Linked DNA regions of Homo sapiens: regions 1 and 2 are each linked to region 3. Evidence: promoter capture Hi-C in human tissues and cell types (Jung and others, 2019). All regions are on one chromosome and are shown on one strand. Each heading gives the region's core, a stretch centred on a gene start or on the middle of the fragment in contact. The rest is flanking DNA. Distances are from core to core; before and after follow the strand shown. Region 1 has its middle 73 kb from the start of CYBRD1. Region 2 has its middle 24 kb from the start of DYNC1I2. Region 3 holds the start of METAP1D (methionyl aminopeptidase type 1D, mitochondrial).

Region 1 (3,795 bases), core at 1,203-3,702, 400 kb before region 3:
GTAAAAATCCAGGCCAGGCTCGGTGGCTCACGCTTGTAATCCCAGCACTTTGGGAGGCCGAGGTGGGCAGATCACGAGGTCAAGAGATCAAGACTATCCTGGCCAACATGGCGAAACCCCGTCTCTACTAAAAATACAAAAAATTAGCTGGGCGTGGTGCCACACGCCTGTAGTCCCAGCTACTTGGGAGGCTGAGGCAGGAGGATTGCTTGAACCTGGGAGGTGGAGGTTGCAGTAAGCCGAGATTGTGCCACTGCACTCCAGCCTGGGCGACAGAGCGAGACTCCATCTCAAAACAAACAAACAAAAAAGAAAGTAAAAATCCAGAGACTTAACCTCTCTAAAGCTGGTGTTTGCCATGACAGCCTATCTGACTGTCTTCGGTGGCACCTGCGGGGGAGGATAGACAAAAACACGAGGCCTGTGAAAGCCAAGAGGATGGACTAGAAAACATCACGTGAAGCCAGAATCCCAGAAATATTACTCTAGGTATGTTCAAAAGGGTTGAACAGAAGTGTGGGGGGTGCCCGAGAGACAGAGATGTAGAAAAACTTACCAATCATCTCTAGACCGAAATGAAAATTATAAATGGGAAAGAATACTTGGAGAATGCTAACCACAAGTTTGTTATCACAAGTGTTTAAGCCAGAATTTACACCATCTGTATTACCTACCCACCAATAAATCTAAGTCAAATATGTCGTTAAAAGAGCATCCAAATATTTAGCTAATAGGAACAGAACAATAGGATAAACCTAAAGAAAGTGGAAGGATGGGAATCATAAGGGAAAAAAATAATGAACTAGAAAATGAAGAAACAGTAAAGCACATCTTTTGAAAAGACTCATGGAAGTGATGACCCAGACAGAAAGGCTGTGCCCAATCCCCAGTGTTGCAGTTGGGGAGAGCACAGGTTTCATAGAAAAGTGCTGCATTGCCAGGCACGGTGGCTCACGCTTGTGATCCCAGCACTTTGGGAGGCTGAGGCGGGTGGATCACCTGAGGTCAGGAGTACAGGACCAGCCTGGCCAACATGGTAAAATCCCATCTCTACTAAATAATACAAAAATTAGCCAGGCGTGGTGGTGGGTGCCTGTAATCCCAGCTACTTGGGAGGCTGAGGCAGGGAGAATTGCTTGAACCCGGGAGGCGGAGCTTGCAGTGAGCCGAGATCATGCCACTGCAGTCCAGCCTTAGTGACAGAGCGAGATTCTGTCTCAAAAAAAAAAAAAAAAAAAAGAAAGAAAGAAAGAAAGTGCTGCATCCAATTGGATAAAGAAAATGTGGTCCATATATACCATGGAATACTACACAGCCATAAAAAATGTCTTTTGCAGGAACATGGATGGAGCTGGAGGCTATTATTCTTAGCAAACTAACACAGGAACAGAAAACCAAAAACCACATGTTCTCACTTATAAGTGGGAGTTGAATGATGAGAACACGTGGACACAAGGAAGGGAACAACAGACAGTGGGGTCTACTTGGGGGTGGAGGATGGGAGGAGGAAAACGGCAGAGAAAATAACACTTGAGCTGGGAGCAGTGGCTCATGCCTGTAATCTCAGCTCTATGGTAGGCCAAGCGGGCGGATCACAAGGTTGGGAGTTCGAGAGCAGCCTGACCAACATGGCGAAACCCCATCTCTACTAAAAATACAAAAATTAGCCAGGCATGGTGGCACGTGCCTGTAATCCCATCTACTCAGGAGGCTGAGGCAGGAGAATCGCTTGAACCCAGGAGTTGGAGGTTGCAGTGAGCCAAGATCACTCCAATGCACTCCAGCCGGGCGACGGAGCAAGACTCCATCAAAAAAAAAAAAAAAAAAAAAAAAAAAAAGAAAGAAAGAAAATGACACTTGAGTACTAGGCTTGATACCTGGGAGATGAAATGATCCGTACAACAAACCCCCATGATGTGAGTCTAGCTATATAACAAACCTGTACATGTACCCCTGAATCTAATATAAAAGTTAAAAATTTAAAATATATATATTTTAAGTGCCACCTTCAACAGTTCCTGAACAGACTGTGGTGGCTGAGGGACAGGTCCAGGCAGATTCTAGATTTTCCATAAAATGGGAAATCCTCTCAAAAGCCAGTGAATGCCAGCATGGTCCAGGGAACAAAACCAAGAGCCCTTGACCCTCCAAGAGAAAGTGGAGGTGACTATTTAGGCCACAGAAGGAGGAAGAGGCAGAGTATGGGACCAGCCTCAGAGCTGTTGGGGTCAGAGCCATCAGCCAGGCATGTGGTAGAAAGATCATTTAGGACCATGTGGGTCCCTTGGGGAGGGTGAGCAAAGCTCAGACCAGAGCTCCTCCTAATGCCAGCACTCCATGGACACTCCCATTGTGTTCCACCTGGGAATTCATATCTCTCCAGGGAGAAAGGAAGGAGAAGAAGGAAGGGAGAATTTCATAGTTGATGTTTACTTACCCAGAAGAGACTGAGTCTAAACTAAATGCTACAGTTTGAATTAGAAAAACATTTTTGCATATCTGAGTCCTAAGACTCTGAAATTCATGCTAGCTATAAAAGAATAAATGTGCAAAGAGGACTTGAAAAATCTAAATAACTAGACCTTGGAAAAATCAGAATGGAGAGTCAGGTTGAGTCACAGGAGCTTTCTGCTGGCGTTTAGCCATTAATGTGATTCAGCTTCTTGCTCTTTATGCCTTTGCTCCCTTCTCTCTCCTCTTCCAGGCAGATAATTCCTTCTGTATTTGCAAATCAGTTTCCCTAGAGAAAAAAGTACATTGGCTCAGCTCACCAGTTCACACCAAGTCTCACCATAGTGAGTTAGCCCAAGGGCTTCCTTTGGGTGAGTCTTGCTTCCATTACATCTTCCCAGTCTCCCCATACTCCCCCACCACCTCCTCACAGGCACGTGTATGTGTGCAAAGACCAGCTCAGGTTGAGTGAGGCAAGCTTGAGGAGTGATATTCCTGGTGTCTACAGTTAAAATATGGGAGAAAAATATACAGGCCACTATGATCTCGATTTTCCTGCCCAAGAATATGAGCCTAAATGAGGTAAAGTGTGAGTGCCTCATACAAAGGCTGGCTGTGTACTAAGCCCTGTGTTAGCTGTTATAAGAGCCAAGGGAAAACTTCCCCGTGGCCCCTAAAGGTTTGCAAAAATCAACTGACAAAAGGCAGAGTAATAGGAGAAAAGGCATATGAATGTATTTGACCATAGTTTTACATGACACAGGAGCCTTCGGAATGAAGACCCAAAGATACGGATGAAACTGTCTACTTTCATGCTTAGGTTCACCAAAATGTGGACGGAAAGGCTATGAGCTATAATAGACTGAGTGGGGAAACCCAAGAAGGCCTGTCTATTATTTATTTATTATTTATTTATGTTTAATTTATTATTATTATTTTTTGAGATGGGGTCTCACTCTGTCACCCAGGCTGGAGTGCAGTGGTGTGATCTCCACTCACTGCAACCTCTGCCTCCTGGGTTCAAGTGAGTCTCCTGTCTCAGCCTCCCAAGGAGCTGGGATTATAGGTGCGCACCACCACACCCAGCTAATTTTTGTATTTTTAGTAGAGATGGGTTTCATCAGGTCTCAAACTCCCAACCTCAGGTGATCCGTCCACCTTGGCCTCCCAAAATGTTGGGATTACGGGTGTGAGCCAACACACCTGGCCTCTATTTAGGTTCTTCTTGGCCTCTGTGCAGCCTTCCTTCCTCTTGGGTATGGGGCTGGACCCTCTCTGGAATGGGGAGATCTTATGACCTACAATCAGACAAACTAGGTCAAATTGCTTCTTTATGGCCAGTTT
Region 2 (4,063 bases), core at 391-2,890, 340 kb before region 3:
CATGAGAAAAACTGCCCTGTAAATTTTCCTTCTTATACTGCCCTTGCTTGCTTTTGGTATTAAGGCTATACTAGCTTCAAAAATGAGTTAAGTCATGCTCTTAATCTGTTTATTCTCTAGAAGAGTTTAAGACTGAAAATCTCTGCTACTTGAATGTTTGTCTGTCTGTGGTTTTCATTCGATTCCACTCCTCCCCTCTCCCCAGTCTTCCTTTCTCCCATCTCTTCCTCTCCCTGTCATTCTCTCTTTGTTCCTTCCTGCTATATTCACTTTCTTTTTCCTTTCCTATACCATCAGTAAGACCACCTTTGATTTAAAAGCATTACAAAATTGGCCTGAAGCCCAGGTATCAGGATTTTTATTTTAATCAATGTTTTTAACATTCCCAGATATAACATTTTTGTGTGTGTTTGATGTAACCAGTTAGTACTGCCTAGATGTGAAAAAAAGAATCTTGCAGTCATTTGAAATAATACTGATTGCTAAATAAGAATTTCAATTATCTGTTCGTAATTACCTATTTTGAAATATTTTTGAAACGAATTCAGTCCCATTCACGGCGTGGTACTTCCAGATTTCTCTGCCTTGTGACACTCAACAATGAAGGGAAACAATTTGAGGATGTAAAGAATACATCAAAATTTCACGGGAACGAGAGCCTTTTCACAAATAAGCTATGCTGATTTTCCACCTTCAATTCTGTCCTTTATGTTTCATAGATATCCTCCCTCTCCTTTCAAATAGCACAAATGTAATTTTCTTGATGGGGCATTATTTCTGGATGGTAAAGATTACTTTAATTCTCTGTAAGAAAAACCTGGGATGTTCCCATCTTTACTTAGTTGAAATGTAAATATTTTAAAACCTTCCATATCATTATGATTTCTTTTCTCCCAGTGACTTAGTGGCTAAATACCAAATGCTCCTTACAAAATGCAAATCACTTATTCAAAATACAATTAAATTATAGCATACATAGTTTATAAGCAATTACAGTCACATAATGTGTGTAATTTGGATTACTCTGGGTAAAAATCTATAAATGTATGGCTGCTACCTTCAAACCAAGAAATAGTTCTTTTTGGAAATATGATATACTACAGCAAAAATACCATTTTTAGGTAAGATGTAAAGTAAGTAGGGTAGGTCTTTCTCAAAGAATACCAATTAAGCCTTCCTCTTCAGGAATTCTGTGGGGGTCCTGTCAGTTAATTAGGTCATTTTACAATGAGAACAGATACCAACCTCGGAGTCTGGATTAATTCTATGGGTACGAATAATGATTGTTAAGATTACTAGTGTCCATTTTTTTATCACTTCTTTTGAGCAGTACCCCTCACACACACACACAAAAAAACTTAATCGAATTGAAATATTCCAAAAGAAAGATTTCTGAGTTTTCATAGCTTTAACCAGAAATCCCATTAAACTGAATCTTTCGTGGACACTGTGATAAGTTACCCAGATGCCCGTCAGGAAGAAGGACTTTGTGTTAGTTTCCTAGGGCTGCCACAAAAATTACCACAAACTGAATGGCCTGAAACAACATGGGCTTATTTTTTCATAGCCATGAAGGCCAAAAGTGTGAAATCAATGTGTAGGCAGGGCCGTGCTTTCTCTGAAGGCTTTAGAGGAGAATCCTCTATGTTTCTTCTAGCTTCTCATGGCTCCAGGCATTTCTTGGCTTGTGGCTGCATGACTCCAGTCTCTGCCTCTGTCTTCACATGGCCTTTTCCTCTGTGTCTCTGGGTAGTCTCCTCTTCTATCTCTTATAGGGACACTTGTCATTGGATTTAGGGAACCCCCAGGTAATCCAGGATGATCTCTTCTCGGGGTCCTTATTTACATCTACAAAGATCCTTTTTCCAAATGAGGTCACATTCACAGGTTTTGGGGGTTACAATGGGGACATATCTTTTGGGGGGCCACCATTCAATCCATTGCAGACTTATTCCCTGGACTCCTGGGAGAGCTGCCAGAAGGAAGTCTTAGCTGTTAGCCTTCTTTGGGGATTGCCTCAGCTGAAAGAAGCTGCTTTGTCCATGGCAGGGTTCCTTCTATGGGGAGCTCATAGCTAACACTGATCAAAATGGGTACAAAGGCCAGCTTGGAGCTATACCAACTTGGAGCTATACCAGCTTGGAGCTATACTTCAGAACTACTCCAGTTCCAGAACTCTCACTATGGTGAGCTGAGGCCTTCATTAGGACTGCACCAGGCTCAACTTCTCCTTGGCCTTCATCCTCCCCTTCCTCCTCTCCCTGGTCCTCCTGGTCAGTGCCTTCTGACTCAGCTTTGCAGGGAACCCAGCCCGAAACACTTAGATGAAAATAATTCATTCATTCACTCACTCCTTTATTCATTCACTCATTCATTTTATTTCATTCAATAAACATTTATTGAGCACCTACTGTGTGCCATGTGCTTTCTTTCACAAGTATGGCACAGTGATCATATTTGAATCTTTTGTAAATCAGGATCTTCTCGTGCCTCAAACTAACCATCCTGAGCCTCATTTGTTAGTTGTAGATCTTAAAGGTTTAAGAGAGGAACTCACAATTTATCCTAGAAGTTATCTTTTGTTTTGATAAATCCCAACCTAACATAAGCTTTTTTCTGCAGTGATGTGCAGTTTGCCCCCAATAAAGGTACCTAAAAAATACATCACTTGAGTAGTCTGATCTATCAGGACTTGCCTAGGTTCTGGATTTTCTGTGTTATTTAAGGTCTGTATTTTAACCTTATTAAAATGGATAAGTGGAGAAGAAATAATGACAGACTTTCAGTGTTAGAAGTACGCACCACAGGATTTCAGAAGGTTAAAGCACTGCCAGAACCAAGGAATTATCCAGCCAGCCCAAATTCCCTGTACTACAAATGGGAAAACTGGGAGTTCATCCCATAGCTGCCTTCATCAGGTAGAGTATGGGACTTTTATCTGATTGTTGTATATATGGGGCTGGGGGTGTTTCTCCATTTCAGTTGTAAACTCCTTTTGGGCAAGATCTGAATCTCATATTTTTCTGCCCTGCTCAGTGTGTAGAAAAATAAGAAGTAAGATTTTGAATAAATAATTGATTGATTGGGCCCTCTTCATCTAGCAAAACTGCTTCGATCATGTCGGTAGTTAAGGGTCTTAATTTTTTATATGCAGACCTCCAGAGGAAATCTAATAATGTCCCTCATCACTTGAATCCTAGGCTTAACAATAATCATTGTCAAGGAGTTCCTCCTAAAAAATAACCCAGCTTTACAGAATAGCCCCAAAATGTCATAAATATGCACATAATTTGTACTAGCCCTTTTCTTTGTAAGTAGTTCGCAGATAATAAAGCATGTTGGAAATAAAATCAGTACTTTTTAAAATTTGAAATGTTTAAATAGCTACTTAACCATTATTTTTACTCCACCTCATTCCATAAAGGATCCAAGGTCACTTACAATTAGACACACATTTCAATATTTTAAAAAATAAACATGATGTGAGAAAACTGAAGTAGAAAATAAGATAAAGTACAGGGTAATGTTAATATCCAAAGTTCATAAATTGCTAGTAGGAGGCCTGAAACTTGGCTCTGAGCATTCCAATTAATTAATAATAACTGCTTTTCTAGAAGGCAATAGAGTGGTCCAAGTTCCTAGTCATCAGAGTCTACTTCATCCGAGATAATAAATCTAAGTCAATCACAATAATCTTACCTCTTGTTAGTAAGTGTTTTAAGAATCTGTACATGACTGAATTCTGATAAAACAGACACAGGAGAAAGTCTGTGGGGGAGGAGAGATTTCCAGGAAGTCTCCTCATTTTTTTTTGTCTCCTAATTCTTAAATGAAAGACAAGAAAGGTTTGGTTCCTTTCTTTCTCTGGATGGTCTTGTGTTTGGATATCATGCTTGGAACTGACGAGTGTCTTGCTATCAGCCTGAGAATGAAGCCAAGACATAGAGGAAGGAAGAGCCAATAGAATCCCTGCCAAGAGAAATTGATGCCCTGACAAGGTGCCCTGGAGCCACATGACCTCCGCATCTCTGGTTTTGCAAGTTATGACATTTTCTTTAAGACA
Region 3 (3,955 bases), core at 234-2,733:
GCTCTCCCTGGAATTGAAATGAGTTTGCAAAAGGTAGGAGTACATTTTATTCTCATTCTTGTGCATCTTATTTACCCTGATGGAAAGCATTACTTCTCTTTATCTTTCAAGGTGACCCAAAAGCATCCAAAACCAGGTTTTCCAGAATTATAGCATGTGTCCTCTAATGAAATGCCAACATTCACTCTCTTTAAAAGTAAAAATATCAAGATTATATAGTCATTAAAAAGAATAAGTCTGAACTAAGTGTTCTAAGATTTGATGCCTATGATGACTGGAATGGAAAAAGCAAGTCATATGATTCTATTTAAAATACTTACATTTGCCTGTGTGTAAAAGGCAAAGATCTCAATTGAGCACACGGTGGTTAACTGGGGAGTGGGACTATGGTATGTACAGAGGGCGAGGAAGGGGCTTGCACTTGTTCCTTATTTCTGAATTGTTCTGAATTGTCTAGATTATTCACTGAGTGTGTAGTGCTTAAAAATTAATTAGAAGACATCACACACATTCACTGAGAATCCTAATCAATCTTCACTGCATTTAAAGTCTGGAAACGGTTACATTCTCAGTTTGACTGGTTTCATGCAGTGTTCAATTGCTTCACCTGACATTCCTCGGGTATCGGGTTCTGTGCCGGGCACGGAGGCTACTAAGATGAATAACACCTGGTCCATGACAGGATGGCATCTACCCCAGAACACAGGTAAGAGAGACAGTGAATTTGGTAAAAATGGGCACCGTCATCAGTAGGCATACATCAGCTCCCTCATCTGATTCACAATTGGCCTTCTGTAGGCTTCTTCTCTTGGCAATGCAATTGGCAGGCGTCATCCTTTTATACTTAAACTCCAAATTTAGGATTAAGACTCCAGTTAATACTGCCAAGCAGAAGGCGTCCTTGGAGAAAGAGAAGTCTCCTGAACATACCCACTGGGGTACCTAGAATAGATTTTGCAGCGACACACAGATCCTGTGTTGTCTGGAGTCTCTGCTGAGTAATGTAGATTCTGGGACAGCAAAAGGGGAGCTGGTGACTTTGAACCAAATTTTACCTTTCAACTGAATCCAGGGGAATAATTTGCAACAGAGTGGCAGACGATACAAAGTGCTATGTTGAACACTAGATTGTGCTTTATTTTTTCCGCCCAACTTCACGTTTCCATGCACCAAAATGTTGATGCTATAAATATTGGATGCCACGCTTACCTGACAGGCTTCTTCCATCCCACCTGGGCGCGGGGGCTCAGAGCGAGCGCGCGAGCCGCGGCTGGAGCCCGCCTCTCGCGGCTGGAGAGGACTCAGCCGGCCGCGGGTTCTGCTGCTTGCCCGGGTGCCCTAGCCGCTTCCCAGCCAGGGCTCCCGCAGTCAGCCCCGCGCGCGCACGCGCGCTCCCCTCGGGCGGCCTCGACGCCTCAGGGCTTCGGCAGGGCTGCGACTGGCCGGCTCCAGCGGGCGGGGCGGCGAGCGAGTGCTCGCGGCCACGTGACCGACGCCAACATGGCGGCGCCCAGTGGCGTCCACCTGCTCGTCCGCAGAGGTAAGCGCGTGGAGGAGAGCCCCGTGAGGGTTCGCACGGTTGCTCACTAGGTACGCACCCGGGTCCAAAGGGATGCGCACCCGCGCTCAGACTTCTCGGCGCACACGACTGTACTTTCAGTGTTTACGAACACACGCAGGCACACACGATGACACATTCACACACCACAGGATCACACATACAAATTTGTTCACTGATCACCCGCCTAGAACACGTCACCACGTGGCATCTTTTCGCAATTACTCCTTGAGATTTGCGGGCCATTGTCTGAAGTTTTTTTCCCCAACTTCGGTTGTATCATTAGTGTAACCAACATTTATTCTGTATGCCGAGCAAGGAAACCTATGGTAATTCTGAAATGCATCTGGACACCCGGTTCCCTTCCCTAGAGCTTTTATGCAGGCATGCTTTTTGGGGACTTGCAAAATGTGATGGTTTTCTTCCAGTGACTTAAAGTTAAGAAGATAAGAAAGGATGTCTGGGTAGTTCTAAGTAGGTTTTATCCTGCGTGAGTGTTGAGATTTTAGTAAATATACAAATGCCTTTGCAGCAGAATTGGGGAAATCTTTGTTGGATTTGAACTAGGTGCTGAATCTTTGTTGGAAAGAACTAGAAAGTTTTTCCAAGGACGGGGGAAGAGGAAAACTATCATATTTTGAGGAGCTACTTAAGCGTCAGGCATGTAGGAACAGTTTTGTGAGGTAAATATTATTTTCATAGTAACAGCTACTGTTTATTAAGTGCCTTTTAAGTACACGATACTGTGTTAAGCGCCTTACATATGCTTGCTTCCTTTTAAAACTCAATGAATGAGACCCCGTCTCTACAAAAAATTTTAAAAATTAGTCGGGCGTGGTGACACATGCCTGTAGTCTCAGCTATTCTGGGGGTTGAGGTGGTAGGATCGCTTGAGCCTGGGAGGTCAAGAGGCTGCAGTGAGCCGTGATCGTACCACTGAACTCCAGACTTGGCAATAGAGCCAGACCCTGTCTCAAAAACAAAAACAAAAACCCAGTGAGTTAGGAATTATTTTCTCTTTGCAGAAGGGAAAAGTAAGGCTAGAGAGGTTAAGTAACATTACTAAGGTCGCATAAATGGTAAGAGGCAGATTGCTCATTTGAACATGACTCTAATTTTTTTTTTTAAGACTCATTTCTCGGTACTGCATGACGTGGTCACTCCATAGAAGTCAGTGTGTAAAGTTCAGCAGAGACAGTGCAGGATGAGTGTGTACAAAAAGTGAAGAGAGCCTGGGCACGGTGGCTCACACCTGTAAACCCAGCACTTTGGGAGGCCGAGGCAGGTGGCTCACTTGAGGTCAGAAGTTCAAGACCAGCCTGGCCAACATGGTGAAACCCCGTCTCTACTAATATACACAATTAGCTGGGCGTGGTGGCGCATGCCTGTAATCCCAGCTACTCGGGAGACTGAGGTAGGAAAATTGCTTTAACCCAGGAGGTGGAGGTTGCAGTGAGCTGAGATCATACCACTACACTCTAGCCTGGGCGACAGAGCGAGACTCCGTCTCAGAAAAAAAAAATAAATAAAAATAATAAAAAATAAGAAGTGAAGAGGAAGATATTTTTAGAGAGGAAGAAGGTTGGTAATCGAATAGACTTCAGTATTTCAGTGTTAGTGGAGATGAGAAAGGGGCCACAGGAAGATTTGAGGGGAGAGATGTGTATGGGGAAGGTGATGTAGCGAGCATTTTGGACTGGTTGCATGAAGGAATGGACATCAGCATGAGAGTGTAGCCTTGTGAAAAGACAGCCAATTTACATCTCTCAAGATCTGGGTGCCAGGCCTGGCAAGGTGGCTAATGCCTGTAATATTACCCAGCACTTTGGGAGGCCAAGGCGGGCAGATCACTTGAGGCCAGGAGTTCAAGACCAGCCTGGCCAACATGGTGAAACCTGTCTCTACTAAAAATACAAAAATTAGCCAGGTGTGGTGGCACATGCTGGTAATCCCAGCTACTTGGGAGGTGGAGGTGGGAGGGATCGCCTGAACCCAGGAGGCGGAGGTTGTAGTGAGCTGAAAAAAAAAAAAAAAAGATCTGGGTTCCAGTCCAAACTTTCTTTACTAATTACTTTTCTGTTTCCTCTTTTCACAAGAAATCATGGCTTTTAGACTTCATTTTTGTATGCTTCAGGTAATGGTGAGAAGGATCTGAGGAGATAGTCAATGTAGAGGAGGAGCCAAAAAAAAAACAACCTGAAAACATACATAGGTGTATGTATGTATATATATATACACCTATGCATGTATAAACGTATTTTTATATGTGTGTATATATGTATTAGGTTGGTACAAAAGTAATTGCAGTTTTAGAATCAATGACAAAAACTGTGATTACTTTGCACCAACTGTATATATAACATCTCTTTGCAGATAACAGAAATAGCATTAATCTTT

Evidence for each region. The method cuts DNA at HindIII sites, captures the fragments that hold promoters and counts their contacts. A contact is called where the count stands out against the background at its distance.
Region 1: a fragment that was not itself captured here is called in contact with the fragment with the promoter of METAP1D in region 3 in 1 of the 25 tissues and cell types used here (liver).
Region 2: a fragment that was not itself captured here is called in contact with the fragment with the promoter of METAP1D in region 3 in 1 of the 25 tissues and cell types used here (mesendoderm cells).

What each region holds. Positions count from the first base shown.
Region 1 is chr2:171,593,357-171,597,151 of GRCh38, forward strand. No RefSeq gene overlaps it. Among named protein-coding and RNA genes, the nearest start is that of CYBRD1, 73 kb to the left of the region's middle. The HindIII fragment of the contact is 6,784 bases long and covers 1-3,795 here.
Region 2 is chr2:171,661,179-171,665,241 of GRCh38, forward strand. No RefSeq gene overlaps it. Among named protein-coding and RNA genes, the nearest start is that of DYNC1I2, 24 kb to the right of the region's middle. The HindIII fragment of the contact is 6,967 bases long and covers 1-4,063 here.
Region 3 is chr2:171,998,470-172,002,424 of GRCh38, forward strand. It overlaps METAP1D (methionyl aminopeptidase type 1D, mitochondrial), which reads left to right and starts at 1,484. Exons shown (of 10, transcript NM_199227.3): 1 at 1,484-1,540. The coding sequence starts at 1,501. LOC124905590 (a long non-coding RNA gene) reads right to left here and starts at 1,440. Exons shown (of 3, transcript XR_007087296.1): 1 at 1,210-1,440. RefSeq lists a silencer at 1,179-1,478. The HindIII fragment of the contact is 22,489 bases long and covers 1-3,955 here.